Linked DNA regions of Homo sapiens: all the other regions are linked to region 4. Evidence: promoter capture Hi-C in 16 types of primary human blood cells and fetal thymus (Javierre and others, 2016). All regions are on one chromosome and are shown on one strand. The core of a region is centred on a gene start or on the middle of the fragment in contact, and the rest is flanking DNA. Distances in the headings are between cores, read along the strand shown. Region 1 has its middle 260 kb from the start of OR4E1. Region 2 has its middle 320 kb from the start of OR4E1. Region 3 has its middle 290 kb from the start of OR4E1. Region 4 holds the start of DAD1 (defender against cell death 1).

Evidence for each region. The method cuts DNA at HindIII sites, captures the fragments that hold promoters and counts their contacts. A CHiCAGO score of 5 or more calls a contact.
Region 1: a fragment that was not itself captured here is called in contact with the fragment with the promoter of DAD1 in region 4 in 1 of 17 cell types (activated CD4 T cells); the score reaches 5.5 in activated CD4 T cells.
Region 2: a contact is called between a fragment that was not itself captured here and the fragment with the promoter of DAD1 in region 4, in 2 of 17 cell types (activated CD4 T cells and non-activated CD4 T cells). The highest score is 5.1, in activated CD4 T cells.
Region 3: a contact is called between a fragment that was not itself captured here and the fragment with the promoter of DAD1 in region 4, in 1 of 17 cell types (total CD4 T cells). The highest score is 5.0, in total CD4 T cells.

The regions. Positions count from the first base shown.
Region 1 is chr14:21,930,197-21,934,017 of GRCh38, forward strand. It overlaps TRA. Among named protein-coding and RNA genes, the nearest start is that of OR4E1, 260 kb to the left of the region's middle. The HindIII fragment of the contact is 4,495 bases long and covers 1-3,821 here.
Region 2 is chr14:21,988,418-21,991,780 of GRCh38, forward strand. It overlaps TRA and TRAV16. Among named protein-coding and RNA genes, the nearest start is that of OR4E1, 320 kb to the left of the region's middle. The HindIII fragment of the contact is 4,471 bases long and covers 1-3,363 here.
Region 3 is chr14:21,961,046-21,964,434 of GRCh38, forward strand. It overlaps TRA. Among named protein-coding and RNA genes, the nearest start is that of OR4E1, 290 kb to the left of the region's middle. The HindIII fragment of the contact is 3,440 bases long and covers 1-3,029 here.
Region 4 is chr14:22,587,974-22,591,322 of GRCh38, forward strand. DAD1 (defender against cell death 1) reads right to left here and starts at 1,251. Exons shown (of 3, transcript NM_001344.4): 1 at 974-1,251. The coding sequence starts at 1,184. RefSeq lists enhancers at 248-889, 890-1,531. The HindIII fragment of the contact is 712 bases long and covers 817-1,528 here.

The DNA.
Region 1 (3,821 bases), core at 934-3,433, 660 kb before region 4:
TTTGAAAAGTAGATGTGTATAGTATAAATCTTAAAGAGAAATATGTTTAAAAATTTTTAAAATTATTTTTAATTGTGGAAAAATATATATAACATAAATTTTGCCATGTTAACCATTTACAAATGGACACTTCAGTAGTGTTAAGTACATTCCTTTGTTGTGCAACCATCACTACCATCCATCTTGAGAACTCTTTTCATTTTGGAAACCTGAAACTCTGTGACTACTAAACAATAGCTCTCTATTTTCTTCTCCACCTAATCCCTAGAAACCAGCCTTCCTTTCTGTCTTTATAAGTTTGACTACTCTAGGTACTTTGTATAACTAGAGTCATACAATTTTTTTTTGTGACTGCCTTATTTCACTTAGCGTAATGTCCTCAAAGTTCATTCATGTCATAGTATGAAGCAGGCTTTCAGAATTTCCTTCCTTTATAAGGCTGCATATTATTCAATTGTGTGTACATACCCTATTTTGTTAAACTATTTATCTATCAATGGAAATTTGAGCTGTTTCTATCTTTTGGCTATTGTGAATAAGCTGCTCTCAACAAGAGTATGCAAACGTCTCAATATTTGGGGTATATCCCCCAATTCTTTCAACTTTAGAAGTGATATACCCAGAAGTGCAATTGCTGAATCACATAATAATTCTATTTTTAATTTTTTAAAGAACTGCCAAACTGGTTTCCACAGTGGCTGCTGTACCATTTTACATTTTCACCAACAGGACACAGGTGTTTTGATTTCTCCACATTTCATCAGCACTTCTTTTACTATCATTATTTTTGATATGAATAGTAGCCATCCTAATGGGCATGAAGTAGTATGTCATTATGATTTTTATTTGCATTTCCCTAATAATTCGTGATGATGAGTATCTTTTCCTGTGCTTATTGGCCAATTGTATATCTTCCTTGGAAAAATGCCTATTCAACTACTTTGCCCATTTTGAAATGGGGTGTCTGTCTTTCTCTCTCTCTCTTTCTCTCTTTCTTTCTTTCAAGATGGTGTTTCACCATGTTGCCCAGGCTGGTTTTGAACTCCCGAGCTAAAGCAATTCACCTACCTCGGCCTCCAAAGTCCTGGGATTACAGATGTGAGCCACCGCGCCTGGCCTGGGTTGTCTTTTTTTTCTGCTGAGTTGTAAGAGTTCTTTATATATTCTGGATATTGATCTTTTGTCGGATATATGATTTGATATTTTTTTTTCCATTCCATGGGTTGTTTATCCACTCTGTCACTCCATTAATTGTGCCCTTTGATGCACAGTAGTTTTTAATTTTGATGTAGTCAAGTTTATCTAAGTTTTCTTTTGCATCCTATGCTTTTGGTATTATAGCCAAGAAATTATTGCCAATTCCATGCTTTCTGAAGGCTGAAAAAAAAGAAAAAAAGAAAAAGAAATTATTGCCAAATCTAAATCGCGATGCTTTTCCTGTAAGATAAGAGTGCAGTTTCACTCTTTTGCATGTGGATATCCAGTTTTTCCCAACACTGTTTGTTGAAAAGACTTTCCTTTCACCCTTAAACAGTCTTAGGACCCTTTCCTAAAATAATTTGGTTGTAAATGTGAAGGTTTAATTTTGGGCTCTCTATTGTATTGCATTGGTCTATATGACTGTCATTATGCAAGCACCACACAGCTTTTGCTATATTACTGTAGCTTTGTAATCAGCTTTGAAATCAGGAAGTGTTAGACCTTCCAAACTTGTTCCTTTTCAAGATTATTTTGGCTATTTGGGGTTTCACAAGCTGCCATATGAACTTTTGGATGGATTTTTCTATTACTGCAAAAACACTATTGGGATTTTGATAGGGATTGAATTGAATCTGTAGATTGCTTTTGGTAGCATCGACATTTTAATGATGTTAAATTCTCCAATCCATAAATATCAGATGTCTTTCAACTTATTTGTGCCTTATTTAATTTATTTCAGCAACATTTTTGTTTTCATTGTGCAAGTCTTTAGCATTGTTGTTTAAGTTTATTCCTAAGTATTTTATTCTTTTTGATGCTATTGCAAATGGAATTATTTTCTTAATTTCCAAAGTGTTCATTGTTAGTTTATAGAAATGCAATTGATTTTTGTGTGCTGTTTCTGTATCCTTCAAGTTTGTTGAATTCATTTATTAGTTCTAACTACAAGCATATTTAATGGTGGAATTTCAGGTGTTGTGACAGCAGATTGGAGAACAGGACATTTGTCTCATGTCCCTCAGGATAACTCATGTAGGCTGCAAAACTTCAAGCATACATAGAAGCATCAACTTCATAATGTAATCATTTTATATCTTTAATACATCAGGCCCTTCAAAATTTAGTTTAAATGTTGAGAAGTCAAAGAATGATGTCCTTCTAAGAATAAATATTCTAACACATGATGATGTGCTGAACAAGATGAAGAATTTGTATTTGGATACATATTTTTAAAGCAATGTTTAGTTAGTAATTGAAAATACTAAACCAGGAGAAAATAATGTGCACTCTGGTTTCCATACTAGAGAGATATAGAAGCAGAAAGTTTTACCTCAGTCCACAGATCTAGTAAATAAACATCCAACACTTAAACTTGGGTCATTTGACTCCAATTGATGAATTTTCAGCAAACAATGAAATATAAAAGTAAGCCAATTCAATATACAACTCCAGAAGTTATAAAATTAACAGTAAAATAAAATGGTTGAGAGTAGATTGAAGGAATTAAAAATAAAAGCAAGAAATTAATGGCTCAAAGGAAAATAACAAAATCAATGATAAAACCACAACATGATATTTTGAAAATAATTACAATACTAACATGATCCAGAAAAAAAAAGTGAGAAGGGACAAATGCATGCACAAAAAAAAACAACATAATTAAGTTGAATTTATTTTGGGAATGTAAAGATGATTTAATACTTGAAAATCTATTAATATAATGCTTGAAATTAACAAACTTTAAGAAGGCCAAAGATGTTCTAATGCCTGGTTTGGTGGATTGTTTCATTTGGATCTAGGATGATTCACTGTACCTGTGCATTTGTGCAAGCTCATTTAATTTGGTTGGCTCTTAAAAATATTCGGATTCTTTCTCTTAATTTGACCCCAATTATAGATATAGTGTTATTGTTCTTAAATTTCTTGTTGCATTTAGATTATTTCTATGAAGAAAGGGGAAAATGATAAATTTATTCAATCATATTTATGACAAAGTTTTGGCTTCCATATTATTGTTTTTGTATTTTTCTTTTATTGTGAAGTGTACCAAGTTTTATTTTAGAAATTGCTGGACCAGTAAATATTGTTCAAGTTGATGGGTTGTATAGACTTCAGATTTTTGGAATGTTCTTGAAAATTATTCCCATTTATGTCCTTAAACCTTGCATAATCTTGTGAAATAATGCTTCATAACAATGACTGACTGTGCACAGATTAAACAATGCTTTAAATAATGTTAGTCATTAGGAAGAATTAAGCTATGATCCTGTATGTGAGAAATTTTCATACTGGTTAATTTGAACAACTATGCTTTAGACTCCTTTATCACAAGCAAGTTTCCAGGAACAGAAAGAGAGTGGTCACTGGCCATGAATAAAGTTCCAGTACTCTGGTGGTTCACAGAAGTTTAGGAACTTTTTCAGCCTTGCTACCATGCATTGCTCATCAGGTGTTTAATAATTGGTCTGAAAGGAATGCTTATGCCACTACCTGGTGGTCAGCTCCTAAACTGCAGTTTATTCATCCTTTAAAATATGTTTTCTTTCCTCTTTTAGTCAAAGAATGAGACCTGAAATTATTTAATTATTTTAAAAAATTTCATTTGGATAAATAGAGCACCT
Region 2 (3,363 bases), core at 99-2,598, 600 kb before region 4:
CCTTCTTTTATACCTCCTTTGAAACTAGAAAAACAAGAAAAAGGAAATGAGAAGAAATGAGAAAAAAATAATGAAAATATTCAGAGAGAGGATAAAAGAGAGTAAAAGAAATAAGAGGTTGGGGGAAAAAAAGATGACACATTTAACTGAATTTCAAAATGTGGTCTATGCCTCATATAGTTTCTGTGTTGCAAGGTTAAAAAGTTCTAGAGATCTGATGCACGACAATGTGAAGATACTTACCACTACTGAATTGTACATGTTAAAATAGTCAAGATGGTAAATTTAATGTTATGTGTTTTTTTACCACAATAAAAAATGTGACCTCTACCTCTTGTTCACAGAGCAGAATTGACCAGGTGGGGCTGCAAAGTGAATGGAGAAGTGTTGGATAGAAGAAGAGAGATGGAAATAAGCTGGGGTGGCCATCATATACACGTGCTATTTCTCTATCAACCAAAGTCTCACTGGAGACATTTTATATGTTCATGATGACTATATGTCCTATGTTAACAGAATTCTCTTAATTTAATTGTATTGTATTTACTCCTTTAAGGGTGATTAAATAAACGATGCATTCGATGAGATATTCTTTCTTTGTGAGAGCTTTCTTATAAATAAAATCACAATCACTTTTCAAATCACATGTCCTGATTTTTTGGCTAAGGAAATTGGGCCACTGACCCTGATAATTTTTTCAGGCTGTACTTGATCCAGATGAGGCTCCCATTTGTCTCTGAGATATCTTTTCCCTTTCTTCACTCCCCTCCTGACTTGTCCGATTACTGGGTACTTTAAGTGGAGGCAATCCTGAGAGCATAAAAACCTAGACATTTCTGTGTCTCTAGTCAGCAGTGCGGCACTCAGCAGGGTACTGACGTCAGCAATTACGCCCGTACACTGCAGGAAAACTAGAGGAAAATCTCTTTGCTCCCTGATCTCATTGTATTCCACCTCATTTAAGTAACAGCATATCTCTTACTTTTTTCTCAGCTATTTGGAGGCCAGAGGAGAGACTTTCTCAAGAGAATTAGTTTTCTTTTTTAGAAAAAAATATATCTGCCGGAGACGCTATCTCCATGACCCATAGTTTTCTGCTCTTAATCCCGGAGCTTCTGTCTACTTGACCCCAGATTTATATCTGACCCCAAAATGGGACACCTCACTTGAGCTCTCTCAACACAGCTTGACTGGGAGCTGGAGAAAATCTTTGGTTAAGGACCAGGGATTGGGGACTCTTTCAATCTACCATTTTTCTAGAATTTCCGTCTTTCTGAGCCAAATGATTGTTCCTTTTTTTATGGCCTTCTTTTCTTTTCTTTTTTCTTTTTTTTTTTTTAAAGTGTATAGAACTAAAATCCCAAAGGGCCATTTCCTGTGTGGGGAAGGTCAGAATCAATGATGGTGGACGGAAAATAAAATAACTTGATCTGGCAATGTTTAAACATTTCACTAAAATATCTGTGTAGAAATTTAAATTTCTATGAAGTGTAATCGATCAATATTTTTTCTTATGTTTTTTGACTGTTATGCTTAGAAAATCCATCACCATTCTAAATTTATTTTAAAAATTTTTTATTTTACTTAAAATATTAAATGTTACGTCCTTTGAACTTTATTTGATAACAGGTATTAAGGTAGGCATCCTAACTTATCTGTTAACTTCCAAATGATTGTTAGGATTGCACATTTTCCCCCATTTTAACTAAGTTTCCAAATGTATTTGTATATTTGAACTTTGTATTCTACTTCATTAAGCCCTATATGTGGATTTTAAAAATAACATTCTATTGCAATTAGTATAGCATCACACTTTTACTGAGGAGGAAATTCTCATTCTCTGAATTTGAAGGCTTCCTGAAGCCTGAGTTAGCTGCAGTATTGTATTTGGCCTCTAGAGAGAGATGTTACACAAATTGAATTTGATAGCCAAAAACAACCTGATCTTTTTGAAGAATAGCTTTTGGCTATACATGCCGGGTAAACTCATCCACCTCTCTGTCAGAGTGTCTATGTGGCTGAATCGTTTCCAGAAAAGACCTCCAGAAAATAGCTTCCTGTTTCTCCACAGGTCAGACATGAAGCCCACCCTCATCTCAGTGCTTGTGATAATATTTATACTCAGTAAGTAAAGCCTCTTTTTGTTCTATTTTTCTATGGTATTCTGATTTAGAATAACTTTAATGAATATTATCCCCAGTCTGTAAGACTTTTCCTGATCCAGAATTGGTGTTATAGGAGGAACAAGAGCCCAGAGAGTGACTCAGCCCGAGAAGCTCCTCTCTGTCTTTAAAGGGGCCCCAGTGGAGCTGAAGTGCAACTATTCCTATTCTGGGAGTCCTGAACTCTTCTGGTATGTCCAGTACTCCAGACAACGCCTCCAGTTACTCTTGAGACACATCTCTAGAGAGAGCATCAAAGGCTTCACTGCTGACCTTAACAAAGGCGAGACATCTTTCCACCTGAAGAAACCATTTGCTCAAGAGGAAGACTCAGCCATGTATTACTGTGCTCTAAGTGGCACAGTAGCTGGTTTTGCAAGGAAGCAGAACACAAACCCTTTAAATACAGGAAATATTTCTTTGCAAACTCTCTGTATGGCCACAGCAGGGCATTCTTTCTCCAGAAATTAATATTGAGTTTATCTCGTAGATATTATATCATCAGTCATCAGTTAGCTATAGATTAACCTCATAATTTTGTCCAAAAAATTCTCATTATTTACCCTGCTTAAATTAAATTTAAAAATAGTAAATGTATTTATTTTGTCTAGTAGTACTGGAAACATACTTTCGAAATAAAAACTATATTGCACTGCATAAAAAGTATTCTTTTCTTTGTTCAGAGGTACTGTCCAGGCTTCCATGGTGCAGTCCTACCTCTTCAACTCCTCTGCTGCCCCACGTGATCCCCACATGTGGTTGTCACCACATACCTGAGCATAGTTCCTCAAAGTGCTCTGCTGTTTCATGGCTTATGATTGTTCATCTTTCTATATCTATTACCCTTCTTTCCATGAGTTTCATAGACTCCTCCTATCTCAATTGGTGTCCAGCCAGGAAAAAAGAAGCCCAGTGAAGTTTAATATAAAGATTTATTAAATAATAATAAGTAATTAACTACTAATGGGTAAAAAAACCTCTAAGGAATATAGGAATGCACATGTAAGCAGAAGTTCCTGTCTCTAGGACTAAGGTAGAATCCCAGGAAAGGAACAGATTGGCATAAGCATGACCCCTCCTGCCAAGGCTATGATTCAGATCTCATTGAGAGTGTGTAGCTGGAGCTTGCTGCATAGTGGAGTAGTTTGCTGAGGTGCCAGAGAAAAATACTGACAAGCAGAAAAATACCTACCAGGATTAC
Region 3 (3,389 bases), core at 60-2,559, 630 kb before region 4:
AATATCCACTCCATGGTCTTACACTGGGTTAGTTGCTAGAAATTTATTTTATGAGTATGCCACTTTGTCAGTCATTCTGATTTGTGTAACTGAGAGATGTCATGACTAAATGCATTACATTTGTCTCAAGTAGCATTTAATTAAGGCTACTATCAGCAGAACTCTAAGAAGCAGAATGAGACCAACATGCAGTATTAACCTTAATTATGCTTGATCCAGCCAAATGTGAGTAAGTTCCAAAGTACAGACAGCTAGCATGTAGTATTTTATCTATTATAACCCATACATGAAAGTTCAGACTGAAATGTTGGTCTTTCTTTGAATTACCACAAAGAAAAAACCCTACCATTCCCAATATAGAGATGTTATATGGCCCCTTTCCCCCGGGCATAACCCAAAATGCACAAGTTAATCAAATTTGGGATTTATTATTAAACTTGATTTGGATAAGCATTGCATCACTTTGGTTAAACTACGTGAGCAGTGTCAGTGAGTATTTGCAATATTTGCAACCTCTGTAGCCATTCATGACATAACCCAACTGTCAAGATATCAGGGGAAGCATATACATTTGTGTCAGTCAATTTGAGACAAGGTTGTGCTGATTCTTGTGTTTGTATACTTATGAAGATGGGGAATCTATATTGGAAAGCTGCCACTGATAAAATAGTCTGGGAGCCACATTCACAAGAGTTTTCCTGTTTTCTTGGGATGTGGGAGGAGATAACAAACCAATAGCAGGACACAGAGTTGCTGCTTGGCTCCAGAAGACAATATGTTTGTTTTTCTATACTTGTTCTAGCATACAAAGAGAGCATTAGACCCTCACTTCTCCCCACTGGCCAGGGTCTAAGAGTTTCTCTTGCTATGTGCTCATCATCACTAATCATCAGAGAGATATCCATCAAAACCACAGTGAGATATCATCTCACACCAGTCAGAATGGCTATTATTAAAAAATTATAAAACAACAGATACTGTTGAGACTGCAGAGAAAAGGGAACACTTATATGCTATTGATGGGAATGTAAATTAGTTCAGTGCCTGTGGATAGCAGTTTGGAGATACCCCAAAGAACATAAAACGAAGCTATCATTTTACCCAGCATTCCCATTGTTGGATATATATGCAAAGGAAAATAGATTGTTGTACCAAAAGGATACATGGCTTCTTATTATTATTGCCATGGTATTCACAATAGCAAATATGTGGAATAAAACTCTGTGCCCATTGATGGTGGATTGGATAAAGAAAATGTGGTACATATATACCATGGAATACTATGTTGCCACAGAAAAGAATGAAATAATTTCTTTGCAGCAACATGAATGGATCTGGAGGCCATTATACTAAGTGAATTAATGCAGAAATGTTAAACCAAATATCACATGTTCTTACTTATAAGTGGGAGCCAAACACAGAACCTACGTAAACATGGCAACAACTATGGATTACCAAAGGGAGCAGGAACTGGGGGGTGCATTAAATAGTACCTATCGAGTACTATGCTCACCACCTGGGTGTAATATACACATGTAACAAACCTGCACATGTACCTCTTGTACCTAAAATATAAACTAAAATATTTAAAAATAGACTCAAAATTAGCACCATTTTCAGAAGCGTTTATTTTAAGATAAATTGCTTTTAAATGAAATCTTGTTTTGCAATACTCTGAGGTTCACAAGACATATCTAGAAAATGTACTATTGCGGAAGGTGAAGACGGTGTAAAACCAGTGGGGGAGAGGTCAGTGGTTTTTCTTATTGGTTGATTATCAGAACACTGTCCTTTGGGGATATGAAAGAGTTTTATATATTCTTTAGACATAATTAGACAAACAATGGTCCATAGGGCAGGTTTGATGCTGTACAAAGTCTGTCATTTTGCTAGCACTGATATGGTTCTTGGGTCCACCACAGCATTAGATCTGTTGATGCATTTATATTATGCTTTGTTACAAATCTTGAAAAGAGGGGTGCTTCTTACAGACTTTGCTTCAGATATTAGATTTTGTTTTAGTAAATTTTCCAAGACTGTAGTGGCTGCCAGCTTGTGTTACTTTCACTTTTCCTCTGGTTTTTGTATTTACCGAGAAATGGTCATGGTTTCTGTCAAGTGCAATGTACCCTTGGAGAAAGGAATTTCAATATTAGCATCTATTCCCTCATTCTATTTCCTAGGTAGTTGTTGGTGGGAATGGGAAAGGTTAGCCTCAGCCATCTTTGGTGAATACCGATTACATGGCTCTTGAGTGGAAAAAAGCCTGCTTCATTGTTGGCCTCTTCAAGGACATGAAACACGTTGTGGAACAGAAGAGAACAGTAGTTGTCTGTCCTTGTTTATCTATAGACTCAATTGAGTTTCTTGCATAGATAGCTCCCTGATAGATTTGGTTTGCTGGTTATGTCAGGATGAACAAAACCTATAACTTTTAGAGATTGATTCCTAGGTATCAGCTTTATACAAGAAAGGCAATAAGAGGGACAGGACAAATGAACAGGCACATTGGGTTTTATTGACAGTCTAGGTACTAAAGGCAGGTTCATCTCAATTGCACCAACCCAAGCAAGAGCTGTTTTGGCACAGATGCATCATTGGTGCAAAATGGAATGACAAAGTCCAAGCTCCTCCAGTTCCTGGCCTTGTTAAAAAATATTGCTTAGGCTATGGGCTGCAACCATGTTTGTTTTGTTCAGCTAGATTTTAGGCCATTTCATCTTGGAAGACTTATTTTGAGTTATAAGAAATTTCTTTAAAAGTTGTATATAACAGAGTAGTATAGGAATATGTGGCCTGACATTAAGAAGAGCTATACAGTGTGAAATTCTCCCTGAATTGCAAGAATCTCACTCAGATTTCTATAATAGAATCTGTTATGTCTGATTTTTTAGTTCAGGAAAGTGGCTATTAGAAATAAGTGGTCTTACTGACCCAAGAGTTGCCATTTGATGGAAACTCATACACACATATATACCCCTCTGCCTTTCTCACACATACATTGACTTTGACTTTTAATATAGCTTAAAAGCTTTATTAAAAGTTTTTATTTTTAATTGATTCATAATATTTGTACATATTTATGTGGTCCATGTGATATTTTGTTAGGTGCATAGAATATACAATAATCAAGGCAGGGTGTTTAGAATATCTATTACCAAGAGCACTTATCATTTCTGTATTGAGAATATTTCAAGTCCTCACTTCTAGCTATTTTGAAAGTACAATGTGTTGTTGTTAACTTTAGTCATTCTACTCTGCTATTGAAAATTAGAACTTATTCCTTCTGTTTCTACCCACTAACCAACCTCCTTTTATTCCCCCAACCACATCCATTTCCTTCCCAGTCTCTGATAACCATCATTCTAGTCTCTGTCTCCCTGAGATCA
Region 4 (3,349 bases), core at 1-2,500:
GATCTGCCTACCTCGGCCTCCCAAAGTACTGGGATTACAGGCATGAGCCACTGTGCCAGGCCTCCAGACAATTCCAATGCTGTATTTTGTCTGTACCCCAACTAGACCATAAACTCTTTACGGATAAAGAACATGTGCCAAAGCTTTTACCATAATGCCTCATATTGGACTGAAAATACAACTGATGACCTGACTGATGATCACACTGAAAAGAAACCATGAATGCTGGCATGTTTTCAAAGTCAAAGTAGCAGGTGATACCAGTGATAGAGGCCACGCCTGTTTTCAGTATTCACTGAATCCCCGTTGGGCAAGAAAAGTCAGATTTTAACAAAAATTGATGGAGACTGTTCTCGCTAAATATAGCAGTCTACAAGGTTACCAAATCCTGGAATCAAAAGGAAAAATAAGGCTAAAATAGAGTTATGTGAACAAAAATTGGGTTCAGGACAGTGAAATAACAGCTTCCTCAACAAGAAAAAAAGTAGTAGCAGCTAAAAGGCAAAATCAAGTAAAGGATGATTCAACAAGAAAAGCACCAGTATTTATATTCTTTGCACTTTCATTGAAACGTTTCACCGGAGATTGGTAATGATTAGGCCAAGATGACAGAGATGATTCAAGGTTGGGTTTTTCATTTGAAAAGTCTACTAATTTTAGAGTTGTGTTAAACCTAAGTTAAAGTTGGAATAGGGTTTTCCCCGGACCAATATTAAGTGAAGTGGATCACCAAGTGGAGTAGCGGCACGAAGGTGGTTTCTTTAGACTTTTAAGTCCAACTCCTACGGAGCCGTTTGGTATTAGGCATATAATCTAAGCTTTCTGAGCCTCAATTTCCCCATTCACAACAAAAGGGCAATGCAGGCTCTTCTCATAACTTCAAGGGGCGGTGGTCTGATATAGAGTACTATGAAAACAAAAGCAGCACACCAAAGTAACACATTATTATTATGATCACTTATAGAACCATTACCCGCTAGGATGAAACTCCCCACACAAGAGATGAAGCCCGAGAGAAAAGAGTTGAAGGGGAAGGTCCCCACGAGGAGACAGTAACCGAACTGCAGCGCCCCGGTCAGCAGTATATACAGCAGGTACGCGTCCAGCAACTTCAGACGCTGCGGAGTGGAGCTCAAGTACTCTTCTAAGAACCGCGAAATGACAGACACTACCGACGCCGACATAACTGCACGCAAGGTACTCCGGTCCGCGCCCCAAACTCTTGGAGGACCCGTCGACCACACCGGATGTGCTGTTTGCGCATGCGCACCCTCGTGACCTAACTCCGCCCTCCCCGGTGTGCCAATTTGCGCAGGCGCTGAGGCCGGCCAGGGCGCGTAACAACTAATGCGCAGACGCGGACTGCATCAACAGACTCAACTACAACTCAGAAAAGTTAATGCGTCTGCGCAATGGCCCTATCAATGAGCTGGGGACGTGTACTCTTTCTGTTCTGTTTCCGCCCGTCAGCTCGGTGACGCCCACAGTTGCTCTGGCAACAAGACACACTGGGAGGAAGAGGGGAATAAGCTTTACTGGGGACCGCGTAGCTAACCAGAGGTATCCGGCTCTCTCTGGTCCTTCTGAGTCCTGGAAGATTTAACGGTTTGCATCTACTTTGAGGCAATGCCTGGCGTTCCTGGGGTTTGATACCAGCCTGACCCTAATTCTGTTAAGGGCGCTGTCTGCAGATGTCTGTCACAGATCATTGGAACAAGTCAAGTTCATCCGCAGTGAGACCCGGCGCGGCCAATCACTGCACAGGCCCCAGTTTAGACTTAATTACTTGGGGGAGTGAGTGGGTGTGGTGAGGGGCGGGAGGCAGGGAGGAAGCCTGACCTCAGCAGGGTTCTGAACTGGAACTCGGGATCTGGCCCTGCAATGCCAACATTTATTGGGCGCCTCCTTGGGGCCTGACGTTGTACTAACTTGTAGGGACTCTCACGTGAATCAGATATATTTGCAGCCTTAAAAGAGCTGGTGAAGGGAGGGACAGCTGTCGAATGTCGTGCAAAAAGCATATGGTCAAGTTTAGCAGCTCTCTTTCCGCAAGCTGGTATCTTGAACCTGGTGTAATATCCCGGGATGTCAGCGTCGAAAGGCCCGAAAGAGCATGCCTGGTTCAACCCTACTCTCTCCAACTCATTTTGCAGAAGAAACTGAAATGGTTTCAGGTTTTGTATTTTAACAAGTGGGATTATTTTGAGGGTTTTAACTGTTTTTTTTTTTTTTTTTGAGACGGAGCCTTGCTCTGTCGGCCAGGCTGGAGTGCAGTGTCGCGATCTCGGCCCACTGCAACCTCCGCCTCCCTAGTAGCTGGGACTACAGGCACGCGCCACCACGCCCGGCTAATTTTTGTATTTTCAGTAGAGACGGAGTTTCACCATTGTTAGCCAGGCTGGTCCCGAACTCCTGACCTTGTGATCCGCCAGCCTCGGCCTCCCAAAGTGCTGGGATTACAGGCATGAGCCACTGCACCCGGCCTGTTTTAACTTTTTTTAAGAAATTAAGTTCTGGCTTTCGTTGCCCTTTTAATTTCACGTGAATCCGACCTTCTAGACCCAGTTCATCTCACCTTTTAGCTGTAAGTTTTTCCACACATGACCAGGTACTTTATTTTCAGCTTCTTAATATTTTGAACTGTACGTGAGCAAAATTCCTAAAACAGCAGGTGAACAACAGCGTTCCTGCCTTTTCACTTTTTTTTTTTTTTTTTTTTGAGATGAAGTTTTGCTCTTGTCACCCAGGCTGGAGTGCAGTGAATGGTGCGATCTCGGCTCACTGCAACCTCCACCTCCTGGGTTCAAGCCATTCTCCTGCCTCAGCCTCCCGAGTAGCTGGGATTAGAGGCACCTGCCACCACGCCCGGCTAATTTTTGTATTTTTAGTAGAAACGGGGTTTCGCCATGTTGGCCAAGCTGATCTTGAACTCCTGACCTCAGGTGATCTGCCTGCTTCAGCCTCCCAAAGTGCTGGGATTATAGGAGTGAGCCACTGCGCCGGCCCCTTTTCACTTTTTATTTGCCTTTAGACTGGAAACTCTACACGCATTAACTAACGGATGTATTATCAGTGGTGATCAAAGCCTTACTTAAGTTCTAGAAAGAAGAGAAATAACCTAAGAAACCTTTAGAGTCTATTTGAATAGATAGATTTATATTCATACCCGTGGAGATTTGTGCAGCTATATGAACATAAGTTCAGCCTAAACCTATGTTGCTGAGAAAGAAAAAAAAAGAGTGGATAACAAGCTGGTTCTTATTTCAATATAATATGGCAGGAAGCATCAATTTCTCTGACAAGTTGAACCTTTCTCTCTGCCTCATCAACAAGTAGGAGGGTAGCTTCC